2 separate regions of the Homo sapiens genome follow, and region 2 is linked to region 1. The links are contacts of gene promoters, found by promoter capture Hi-C in blood cells and fetal thymus (Javierre and others, 2016). All regions are on one chromosome and are shown on one strand. Each heading gives the region's core, a stretch centred on a gene start or on the middle of the fragment in contact. The rest is flanking DNA. Distances are from core to core; before and after follow the strand shown.

What was found. The method cuts DNA at HindIII sites, captures the fragments that hold promoters and counts their contacts. A CHiCAGO score of 5 or more calls a contact.
Region 2: a contact is called between a fragment that was not itself captured here and the fragment with the promoter of GIMAP7 in region 1, in 5 of 17 cell types (total CD4 T cells, naive CD4 T cells, naive CD8 T cells and 2 more). The highest score is 10.4, in total CD4 T cells.

What each region holds. Positions count from the first base shown.
Region 1 is chr7:150,513,443-150,519,781 of GRCh38, forward strand. GIMAP7 (GTPase, IMAP family member 7) reads left to right here and starts at 1,430. Exons shown (of 2, transcript NM_153236.4): 1 at 1,430-1,503. It also overlaps the pseudogene STRADBP1. RefSeq lists enhancers at 1,152-1,311, 1,322-1,581. The HindIII fragment of the contact is 12,674 bases long and covers 1-6,339 here.
Region 2 is chr7:150,768,531-150,774,179 of GRCh38, forward strand. All of the region lies in intron 2 of LOC105375566 (a long non-coding RNA gene), which reads right to left. Among named protein-coding and RNA genes, the nearest start is that of TMEM176B, 29 kb to the right of the region's middle. The HindIII fragment of the contact is 2,439 bases long and covers 1,586-4,024 here.

The DNA.
Region 1 (6,339 bases), core at 180-2,679:
ACTGTCCAATAAGTTGTAATATTGGGATGCCGGAAAAAGTGGGATAGAATCATGGCTTTCTGTAAAACTTTCAGGCGTTCTTTATTGCCGTTTTCCAGATTTGTAATTTTTGTAGTTACCAGCGTTCCCGTAGGAGTATGCCGTGCTAGATGGACAGAAGTCAACTTGTCAAATCCTCTTCCTATTTCTACTTGGAGCTCGTAGTGAGAAACGTTGGCGGAACATACTACTTCACTGGCTCTAGTGGATGGAGGCGACCAGGAAAGGGTTGGCTCTTCGACCAAGTATTGATGGATACTGGTTTCAGACTTGTTTTTCATGTTTGAGTGATTCAACTTGTGTTCTTGAACTAAAGCTCACAGAAAGTGACAAAAATCCAAATATTCCAAAGAAGGCTTTTGTTTTATCTTCCTTTGAAGATGCAGATATATCCTACTTAGCGGCGACGACGGCCAGCGACTCCCTACAGGCTGCCAGTGGTGCGGACCTGGGCGGGTGCCGGAGCCCGGATCACAGAGGGGCAAGGCGAGCGCTCTAGGCCCACTCCTGGCGTGGGGCGCTGGAGGGTGGCAAGGCCGCGACAGGGGCTGTGGGCTTGGAACTCTAAACATAGTATTCTTACGTAGCCAACTGGAATATCTGGTCAACCGTGAGAGCTTTGGGAACCTGCCTCTCACCTCAAGAAACCTCCAGAGCAGATTGGAACCATCCACTGGGTAAATTCTGGAAAATCTGTCTCTGCCTGAGACTGGGGTAGGAAGATGTGGGGTAGAGAGGAAGGTGGGGAAGGGATGTAGGATCTATTCCTTGGGTGCATCTTTACTTGTTAGGTCATGCATATTTTCAAACTTGGAAGAATTATACGAAAAGCAACTAGAGAAACTATGTGTTCATGGGCAGATTATTTTTCCAGGCGTCACCTTCCTTTTTTTCCCTTGGTTCCTAATGATTTAGACTCTGCCTTTGAGCCTCAGTGCTGTTAACTTTTGAATGAGTAACTTGAGGCCTTCCTGAAAGACTATAATAAAAAACCCATATTATACAATCACTAAGAACCCCCAGCTCTACGCTTGGAAATGGCAAGGTATATGCCTGTCTCTCTTCTTCCCCAAATCACCCCTCAGCCTCCCACTCCACCCTGGGAAGACAATCAGGTCCTGTGCCTTGTTTTCTAGGCAATATTTGGGTCATTTAATAAGGCTCTTTTGCATCCATCACTATAACCTGAAGCGAAAAATGTAGCTTTGGAAATGGTGTTTATAGCAGGCCCATGGGCAAAACGTTTCAACCGGGCAAAACTGAAGCAATCACCAGATTATGGAGCCGTATTTCTGTTTCTTTAAAGACAAACATTTTTGTGTGTGTGGCTCCACCCAGCCTGAGCTTCCTGACTGAGAGGTTTTGGTGGCGGTACAGACACTTTTAACTCACAGTAAAAGCAAAAGCAACAGCTCAAGCAGCCTCCTTGGAGAAAACCTGAAAATTCAACTTGTTCAAGAGAAGGTGAGCCTGGCTGAGAAGAGGGTCTGGTGCTATTGGGCTGCGAAGGGCAGTGGGGACAGGGTGTGTGGCTGGAGTGGACTCTGCCCTTAGGAGGGACAAGGCACTGTGCTAAGCAGCACTGCATAGAAGGTGCTGTGGGAGGGGTGAGTAGAAGGGGAGTGAGGAGATTTGTTTGCATGGAGCCCATGCATCTCATATGTAACAGGACACACATGGCTGCATAGTGCACCCTCCACTCACTGGCTGTTGTGATAGACACAGAGTGTTGCCTGATAACCTTCATAAGAAATTAAGGGCTCCTAAGACAGATTTGTAAAGGTGACAGGCAATTTAGAGTCCACCTGTCTAAGTCCCTCTTCTTACAGAAAAAGAATCAGAATCCCAATCCCAGAGATTTTGATGATTCTCCAAGGGGTACCCAGATCACTCATGGCGGAGGAACACTAGAATTCAGTCTGCTGACTTTTTCCAGCATTAAGCAGAGACAAGCTGTGTCCCTAACAGTGTAACATGTGGGGCTGCTGCGCCATTCAGTACAAAAAGAGTTGCCATAAAAGACCTTTATAGAAATCACTCTATGAAAGCCTAAGGACAACCCTGCAAGATTGGTTTTATTTTCCTTTTTTATAGCAGAGGGAACTGGATCTCAAGGAGCTACGAAATTTTCTAGAACCGGTGGGTCTGGCCACAGTTTAGAACTGTTCACCTCTGTTGTAAATGCTTTTGTCATTTCTCAGCCTTTCTCTTAGCTGGAGGTCCTCTGGATCTTCCAGGAACCACTTGAGAAAGTTTTAAAACTTGAGAAAGTTTTAAAGTGATATTTCTGACCATCTCTCTCACGTTTGGCTTCTCAATATGAGAGAGATGGAAAAGTCCACGAGAAATGCGGAGCCCTCCTCACGGTTCCCTTATAACAGGCTGGCTCCCAGCTCACCTTTTTGCAGAAAGCGTGGATCATCTCCTTTGCCCTCCACTGGTCTATCTCTGTGCCATGTCAATGAAAATTTAGAATCATGGCCTGAGAGTAGCCAAGAACAGGCAGTAGAGTGCACGGTTAAGAGTGAGCATGGTAGATTCAGACAGACTTTGAATCGAATGTCTTCTCTGCCCAATACCTCTTAGCACAGTGACCAGGGGCATGTTTCCCAGAATTTTTGAGCCACACCAGCTTCCTCATTTAAAAAATTAGAATAATAAAATTAGTTTCACTGTAGAGTATTTTTGAAGAATAAACGAGATATACAAAACATGTTTTATCAGGGTGTTCTGATATGCAGTCTCTGCTCGATAGTGGTTACACTATACATGGGTTAATTTTTTTATTTGTGAAAAATTTATACTTATTCAAAGGTAAAAACAATATAAGGAACTTCCATGTACCTATATTAAAATCTCACAGTTATCAATTTATGCCAGTCTTGTTCAAATATCTGCTCCTATTCTCAACTCTATCACAGATTATTTTGAAGCAAATGTCAGACATTACATCATTTTATCAGTAAATATTTGAGTATGTGTCTCTGAAAGATAAAGACCATTTAAAAACATTTCCACAATTTCATAAACAGCCTTCAAAAGGCAACTATAAATTTTAATACTACCAGTTGTATTCAGATTTCCCTGAAGATCTCATAATTTTTAAAATTGTTTGAGGTAGGATCTAAGTAAAATTCATACATTACAATTGTTTGACATCTCTTATGTTTCACTTAATGTGTAGGTTTTCACCTTCCTTGTTTCTTTGTGTTAAATTTCTTTGTTTAAGGAAGGGAAGGTCTTTTGTCCAACAGAACTGGGCAGTATTCATACTGCTGATTGCATCCTAACAATGTCATTTAACATTCGCTTCTAGCTCCAGTGTTTTGTGTGAATTTATATGAATGGGGAGGTTGGATCAGATTAAAGTTTGACTTTGTTTTTTTAGTGGGAATACTTCATAGATGCTATCCTAAACTTCTATTAGAAGGCACATATGTTTGAATGCCTCTCTTTTTGTGATGTTAGCAGATGTTAATGATTGTCTAGAATGAATTTGTTTCATTAAAAGTTACCAAAAGATGATATTCTATCATTCTTTATTTATTTATTAGATGGAATAGTCATACACAAAGGAACTTTCATTCAGTGATTCTTTCATTTTTGTGAGATATAGTTAAAAGATGAGATGTATGAAAGACAAAATAAATGCTTCTTTCCCTTTAGTTGTCAATGTTCAGAATGATGAGTCACTTTCTTAGCATACTCCAAAGGGAGCAATTAACTTCTTTCAGGAAGATGGTGTTGTTATCAACTACTGGATTTCAATATATTTGGTATATTTTAATCCATTGGAATAATCTTTATTAATGATGCTCAAATTATTCCATCTTTGTCCAGTTGGAACCTCTTTAAGGTAGCTTCCAAGCCCTTCTGATAAAACTAAGTAATTTTTTATAGCATCCCTACTTTCTAGTATGAAAGATGTTGTAGGCTAAACTTGTATGTTTACTGGCCCAGACCTGGAATCAGTACTTTTTCCTAGTAGTCCTAATTTCTTTTGTGGGAAATACCATTTGAAGATCACAATCTGGGCATTAAGTGCACTCACTGCTACTTGGCTGACCATGGTTTATGCCTTTTAGATGGACTTCAAAACAGTACACACACACACACATACACACACACACACAGTGAAATTATTAATACTACATTTTCAAGCCTTTCAGGACAAATCTTTGTGTGGTTCATCCTTGACACAAGATACAGTTAGGTTTATTTGTTCCGTTTCTTTTAACTTTTACTGGTGTTTTAAAATATAATTTTTATTGTATAATTATGTAAACTATTTAAATGTTCTCAAGATCAAATTTGCAAAAACAAAGGATATTCAAAGAAGTCTAATGACCATTTTCTGTTCCTGTCCCTTGTACCTTGTTTCTCTCATCTTCATATAAATAATTCTTTTGTTTAGTTTTCAAATGGTTCTGCCATTGCTTTTTCACATGCACATAAAAATTATTTATATATATAAAACTAATATTCCTTCTTCTTATATAAATGATAGTAAACTATACATTATTTTCTTCACTTGGCTTTTTTTCACTTAGCAGTATATCACAGAGATCTCTTCATACTGGTATATAGATATATTTCTCATTCCTTTTTGCAGTTGGATTGTACTTTTCTGTATGAATATTCCTTAGTTTATTCAACTGGTCCCCACTGATGGGCATCATTCCTTTCTGTATTTTTGTCAGTGCAGCTCTGGGATAAATCCTAAAATCGGGATTGATAATCAAAGAGTAAATGCATGTGTAATTTTTCAAGGTATTGCCACCTTCTCCTCTATAGGTGTTAGGTTGTTTTCCCCTTCACACTAGTCATGCAAGAAATTATCTGTTTTCCCCATACCTTTACCACCAGATTATGCTGGGAAATGGATTTTTGCCATACCTATAGTAGAGAAATAGTGATCTCTGAGAATTTTTTATTTTTTCTATGTTTTTAATTATTTTTCTCTATTGTGAATGAACTTGGATATCTTTTTATGTATTCAAGGATAATTTATATATTTTTTTCTTTGGCCGTGGGTTCATATCTTGCCCGATTTTCTATCAAGTCATTGGTCTTTTGTTTCTTTACTTTTAGCTATTCTTCATACAGTAGGAAAAGTAGCCCTCTTTGAGATAAATCGGAAAAAATGTTTTCCTAGTTTGATATTTGTGTTTTAATTTGCCTATGGTGTTGTATGCCTTACATAATTTTTTGGATTTTTGTGTAATCAAACTTATCAGTCTTTTCCTTATACTATTTTAAATCTTAGTTATTAACATCCTCCCCACTCCCAGGTTACAAAAAATTTACCCGTGTTTCTCTTATTATTTATATGGGATAGTTTTTGCATTCAAATTTCTGATCTATTTGGAATTTGTATGATATGAGGAATTGGAGGCAATTTTATCTTTAAAATTGCATCCAATTATATGGTGGTATAGTTATTTCAGTGTTGCTAATAAAAGTGTCCATCATCTTTCCCATTGGTATGAGGTGTTGCTTCACAGAATGTAAGTTAATGTAATTGAATGGAATATAAATGAACATAAAATGAGCAATGGCCTATTTGTGAATTCTCTGTTTCTGTTTCATGGCCTGTCTCTATTCACTCACCAATATCACACTGCTTTAATTATAGAGATTATAATATTTAATTGTCTGGTAGAGCTAGTCTTCCCCTGTTCTTCTTTTCCTTGATTGTCTAGGCTAACTTGCATTTTCCTTCATCTGAATGAACTTTATAATCAACTATTTTAGTTCCAGAAAAAAAGATGACAAAATTGAAAAAATTATATTTGTATAAAATCATGTTAAAGAAATAGATATTTTTTCTGTTCTACAAACTACCGTAAACATGAATCAGTGTTAAATTTGGCCAAATATCTTTCCTGCATCTAGCTAATTTTCTTCTTAACCTATTAACGGGATGTGTTGTAACAATCAACATTCTCATATTGACCCACCATAGTATTTCTGAAATAAATCACACTTAATCACAGTCTATTATTTATTAGTGTCTAATAATTTATTTAGGATTTGTATATTAGTATTCACAAATGAGACACATCTTTAGTTTTCTTTATTGATGAAATATTTGTCAGCCTTTGGAATCAATATACTTGCTTCATAGAAAAAAAAAGTAACTTTTTCCTTCTTTTTATATGGCCAGGAGCAGTTTTAGGTAGCTTTGAGATCATCAGATCTTAAAAGGTTTAATAGAATTCACCTGTGAAACCATCTATACCTGGTACTACTTTGTGGGGAAACTCTTTAACTGCTTTCTCTATTATTTCTTCCATATTA
Region 2 (5,649 bases), core at 1,555-4,054, 260 kb after region 1:
CCATTGAGCCCGGGGGTCAAGGCCGCAGTGAGCTGTGATCATGCCACTGCATCGTAACCTGGGTAACAGAGTGAGACCCTATTTCAAAAAATAAAAACAATAATAAAAACTAGGAGTGGAAAGGATAGGGGTTTAGATGAAACAAGATTGCCCATGTATAACTGTTGATGCCTAATGATAGATACGTTGAGTTCAGTACGCTATTTTTTCTACTTCTATGTATTTAGAATTTTCCACTTAAAAAGTTTTTTTAAATAGATTGACAGAGGTTTATCAAAGTTCATAATATTTCAATTTTTCCAAATATTTTAGATATAATGGGTTAAATGGGATACTTTTCAACCTTTCAGTGAAAGAGTAAGACATACAATTTATAGTCATTTGGTATGTCTTGATAAAGCTTTTTTGGTATACTTCCCAGACATTGAGAAATCAAGTGATTCTAATGACTGGCCATTAAATCCTTCTGCAAGTCAAGCAGTCTCCACTATTTTGTTTTCAACAAAAAGGAAGACAGATATATCCATCAATAGAAATTAAAAATTAATGAGAAACCACTATGCGGTTTTGGCATTTATTTTGGAAGGAGTACAAAGAATTGAGTGGCATTAGCATAACAGAATTGATTATATTTCTATTGATTCGTTTATATGAACAAGGCTTCTCAATTTTTGCACTGAAGTAATTTCATTTAAAAATGTTAATATCTACAATGTGCTAGAAATTACATCCTTTGCAAATATTCATGATGAAAAAATTTTAGAAGTTCAGCTTAAAATCAAGAGAAGACCTAAATTTTTAAAAATCCCTTTAGTGAATACAGAAGTAAAAAAGTTTGAAGACCATTGCCTTAAAGAAAAACTTACATGAATGCATAAGGATATTTTGTAAGAAGACTCATGATAGTAAAAAGCTACAAACAACCCAAATATTCATCAATACTGCATTGGATAAGCAAATTATAGAATATCCACACAGTGGAATGATATTCAGCAGGAAAAATGAACAAAACACAATTACCTACATCAACATGAATAAATATCATATACATAATGTTTAATCAAAGAAGAACCGTTCTTTTCCCAGAAGAATACAGAATCTGATTCCATTTTTGACAAGGTTAGTCGTGGAAAAAAACTAAAAATATATATTGTTTAGAGCAACAGACATAGGTGATACAAAACTATAAAGAAAAGCAAGGAAAGGCTGGGCGCGGTGACTCACGCCTGTAATCCAAACTCTTTGGGAGGCCAGAGCAGAAGGATTCCTGAGGACAGGAGTTCGAGACCAGCCTGGGCAAAACAGTGAGGCCCTATCTCTACAAAAAAAAAAAAAAAATTGGCCAGGTGAGGTGGTGCACAAGGTGATCTTGCTACACAAAAGTCCAAAGTGGGAGGATCGTTTGAGCCCAGGAGGTCAAGGCTGCAGTGAGCTATGATTGCACCACTGCACTCCAGCCTAGGCAATGGAGCAACACCCTATCTCAAAAAAAAGAAAAAGAAAGAAAGTGAATGATTAACACAAAAGAGAGGATAGTAATAATACCCTAGCGACAGGGAGAGGAACTCATGGAGGTGGGATGGGAAGCTTCGAAGGGCAATGCTCTACTCCTTAAACTGGGTATGGCTTTATTGAGCTTTATGCTGTACATATACTCTTATATATATATATTCATGATATACTTAACTATAAATATAGCTCAACCATATTGAAAAACATGAAACAAGACCTGAACAAACAGAAAAACAGACCATGTTCTGGTATGAAAATACTTACCACTATGAAGATATACATTCTTCCAAAATGGATATATACATAATTAAATTCCAATTGAAATCTGTTGTTTTTGTGTGTGGAATTAGATATGCTTTCTTCAGGCTCCCTTGTGCGGAAAAAAAATGCCTGAACATAAGTTAGTCTGGCATCGGCATAAAACACACAAATAAATCAGTAGGACAATATACATAGTACATAATGAATCCTAGTTAATAATGGGAATAAATGTATGAAAAAGCAGAGGAAAATTGGTTATTTAGTTAAGTGGTGAGGAAAAAACAGCTTTCCAATTAGAAGAAAGTAAAGCTGGGCTGCTACCTCACACTACATAAAAATCCAAGAGGCCGGGCACAGTGACTCACACTGTAATCCCAACACTTTGGGAGGCTGAGACAGGTGGATCACGAAGTCAAGAGATCGAGACCATCCTGACCAACATGGTGAAACCCCATCTATACTAAAAACACAAAAATTAGCTGACCGTGGTGGTGCCCGCCTGTAGTCCCAGCTACTTGGGAGGCTGAGACAGGAGAATCGCTTTATCCCGGGAGACGGAGGTTGTAGTGAGCCGAGATCGCACCACTGCACTCCAGCCTGGCAACAGAGCAAGACTCCATCTAAAAAAATAAAAAATAAAATAAAATCCAAGAAGGATTGAATTTGTGTCTGTAAAAAAATAACATGAAAATCTTAAGACAAAATACAGGAGATTATATGTACAAGCCAAGAGTTGAATGTACTTTCTTAACCAAGACATGAAGCCAGAAGTTATAAAAGAAAAGATGGCTTTAAAGTGTTTAATATGGCAAAGATGCCATAAACAAATTTAAAGATAAAAAAATAAATTTTTCTCTTGAGCCCAGGAGTTGTAGGCTGCAGTGAGATCTGATTGCACCACTGAAATCCAGCTTGGGTAACAGAGTGAGACCTCATCTCTAATGAAAAAAAAAAAAATTAAGATGAAATTTTAAAATCTATGTTACCAAAAAAACTCACAAAAATAAAAATGTGCAACATCCTTAGACTGTTCACAGATGAACAATCAATGGCCAATACACATGTGAAAAAAATTCACTTCATAATGAAGGAAATGAAAATCAAAACAACTTGAAAGCATTGTAAAAAGTTATATACTATTGACAAAAATTAGGGGTGAGCTGAGGTCTGGAGGTCGAGATCAGCCTGACCAACATGGAGAAACCCCATCTCGACTAAAAATACAAAAGGCCGGGTGTGGTGGCACATGCCTGTAATCCCAGCTACTCCGGAGGCTGAGGCAGGAGAATCGCTTGAATCCGGGAGGCGGAGGTTGCAGTGAGCCAAGATCGCGCCATTGCACTCCAGCCTGGGCAACAAGAGCAAAACTCCATCTCAAAAAAAAAAAAAAAAAAAAAAATAGTGGTGAGGTTGGGAAGAAACGCAAAAGATGCTTTAATGCATTGCTGGTAAATGTAAATTATTACAGCCTTTTAAGAAAGCTCTCAATAGGATTTATTTTATTTTAAAATATTTATACACTTTAATGCATCAACCCTATTCCAAAGACTCCGTCTCATGGCAATAAAAGCTCCAGTTAGTATAGTCTGGTTTTGCAGAATTGTTTCTAGAGGCAAAAACATAGGAAGAGAGGTAAAAGTGCATCAGTAGGGATACTCATATTGGTATACTCATATCATGGAAATATTATGCAGCACTAAAAAGGATTATTAGAATGGCTAAAATTAAATACACTGAACACACTGAGTGTTGGTGAAGATGTGGAGGGACTGGTGGTATATAAAATGGTGCAATTGGCCGGGCTCAGTGGCTCACGCCTGTAATCCCAGCACTTTGGGAGGCCAAGACAGGCAGATCACCTGAGGCCAGGAGTTCAAGACCAGCCTGGCCAACATGGCGAAATGCTGTCTCCACTAAAAATACAAAAAAAAAAAATTAGCCAGGTGTGGTGGCAGGCGCCTATAATCCCAGTTTCTCAGGAGACTGAGGCAGGAGAATTGCTTGAACCCAGGAGGCGGAGGTTGCAGTGAGCTGAGATCACACCAGTACACTCCAGCCTGGGCAACAAGAGCAAAACTGCATCTCAAAAAAAAAAAAAAAGTGGTGCAATGACTTTAGAAAACAATTGGCCAGTTTCTTAAAAAGTAATCTTACACACCCATAATATGACTCAGGCATTCCACTCCTAGGTATATTCCTAAGAGAAAAGAAATCATGTGTTCATAAATGTCTTATACCTGATCATTCATAAAGCTTTATCTGCAATAGGCAAAAGTTGGGAATAAACAAAATATCTATCAACAGGTGAATGGATAAACTAACTGTAGCATATCTATACAATGGAATATGACTTCTCAATAAAAAGATATGAGCTACTGATTCACACAACATGGGTGAACCTCAAAATTATTATGCTCAGTGGAAAAAGTCAAACAAAAGGAGTACATATAGTATATATGGTGTGATTCCACTTACTCTAGAAAATGCTCACTATTCTATAGTGACAAAAAGCAAGTCAGTGGCTGCCCGGGGATGGGGGTGAGAAGTGTCAGGAGGAAGGACTGACAAGGGTCATGAGGATATTTTGGGGGGGGCCAATGGATATGTGTCAAAACTTATTAAATCGTACACTTTAAATATGATTCTCTCTCTCCCACTCTGTCTCTCTCTCCCTCTGAATTCTCCCTCTCTCTCCCACTGAAAACTGGAATAAGACAAGGATGACCACTCTCACCACTCCTATTCAATATGGTACTGGAAGTACTAGCCAGAGCAATCAGGCAAGAGAAAGAAATAAAAAGCATTCAAATAGGAAGAGAGGAAGTCAAACTATCTCTGTTTTCAGACAATATGATTTTATATGTAGAAAACCTCATAGTCTCTGCCCAAAAGCTCTTACAGATTCAAGACAAACAACTTTAAGAAAGTTTCAGGATAAAAACTCAATGTACAAAAATTAGTAGCATTTCTATACACAAACAACGTCCAAGCTGAGAGTCAAATCAAGAATGCAAGCCCATTCGTAATAGCCACGCACACAGAAAAAAATAAAATACCTAGGCATTTTCAAATCTCTTTCAGTAAAATATCTTTCACCTCCCTAACCAAGGAGAGTTTTGTAATTCTCAACCCCAGTGAGGCGAAAGATCTCTACAATGAGAATTACAAAACAATGCTCAAAGAATTTAGAGATGACACAAACAGATGAAAAAACATTTCATGCTCATAGATAGGAAGAATCAATATTGTTAAAATGGCCATACTGCCCAAATCAATTTACAGATTCAATGCTATTCCTATCACACTACAAATTACCTTTTTAAAGAATTAGAAGAAACAATTCTAAAATTCATATGGATCCAAGAAAGAGCCCAAATAGTCAAAGCAATCCTAAGCAAAAAGAACAAAGCTGGAGGCATTACATTACCTGACTTCAAACTTTCCTAGAGAGCTACAGTAACAAAAAACAGCACGGTGTGGTACAGAAACAGACATATAGACCAATGGAACAGAATAGAGAGCCCAGAAATAAAGCCACACACCTACAACCATCTGATCTTCAACAAAGTCAACAGAAACAAGTAATGGGGAAAAGACATCCTAGTCAATAAATGGTGCTGGGATAACTGGCTACCCATATGCAGAAGATTGAAACCGGACCTCTTCATTTCACCATATACAAAAATCAACTCAAGGTGGATTGAAGACTTAAATGTAAAACCAAAACTACAAAATCCTAAAAGAAAACCTAGGGAATACCATTCTAGACATAGGCCCTGCCAAAGATTTCATGACAAAGATAACAAAAGCAATTGCAACAAAAACAAAAATTGACAAATGGGACCTAATTAAACTAAAGAGCCTCTGCACAGCAAA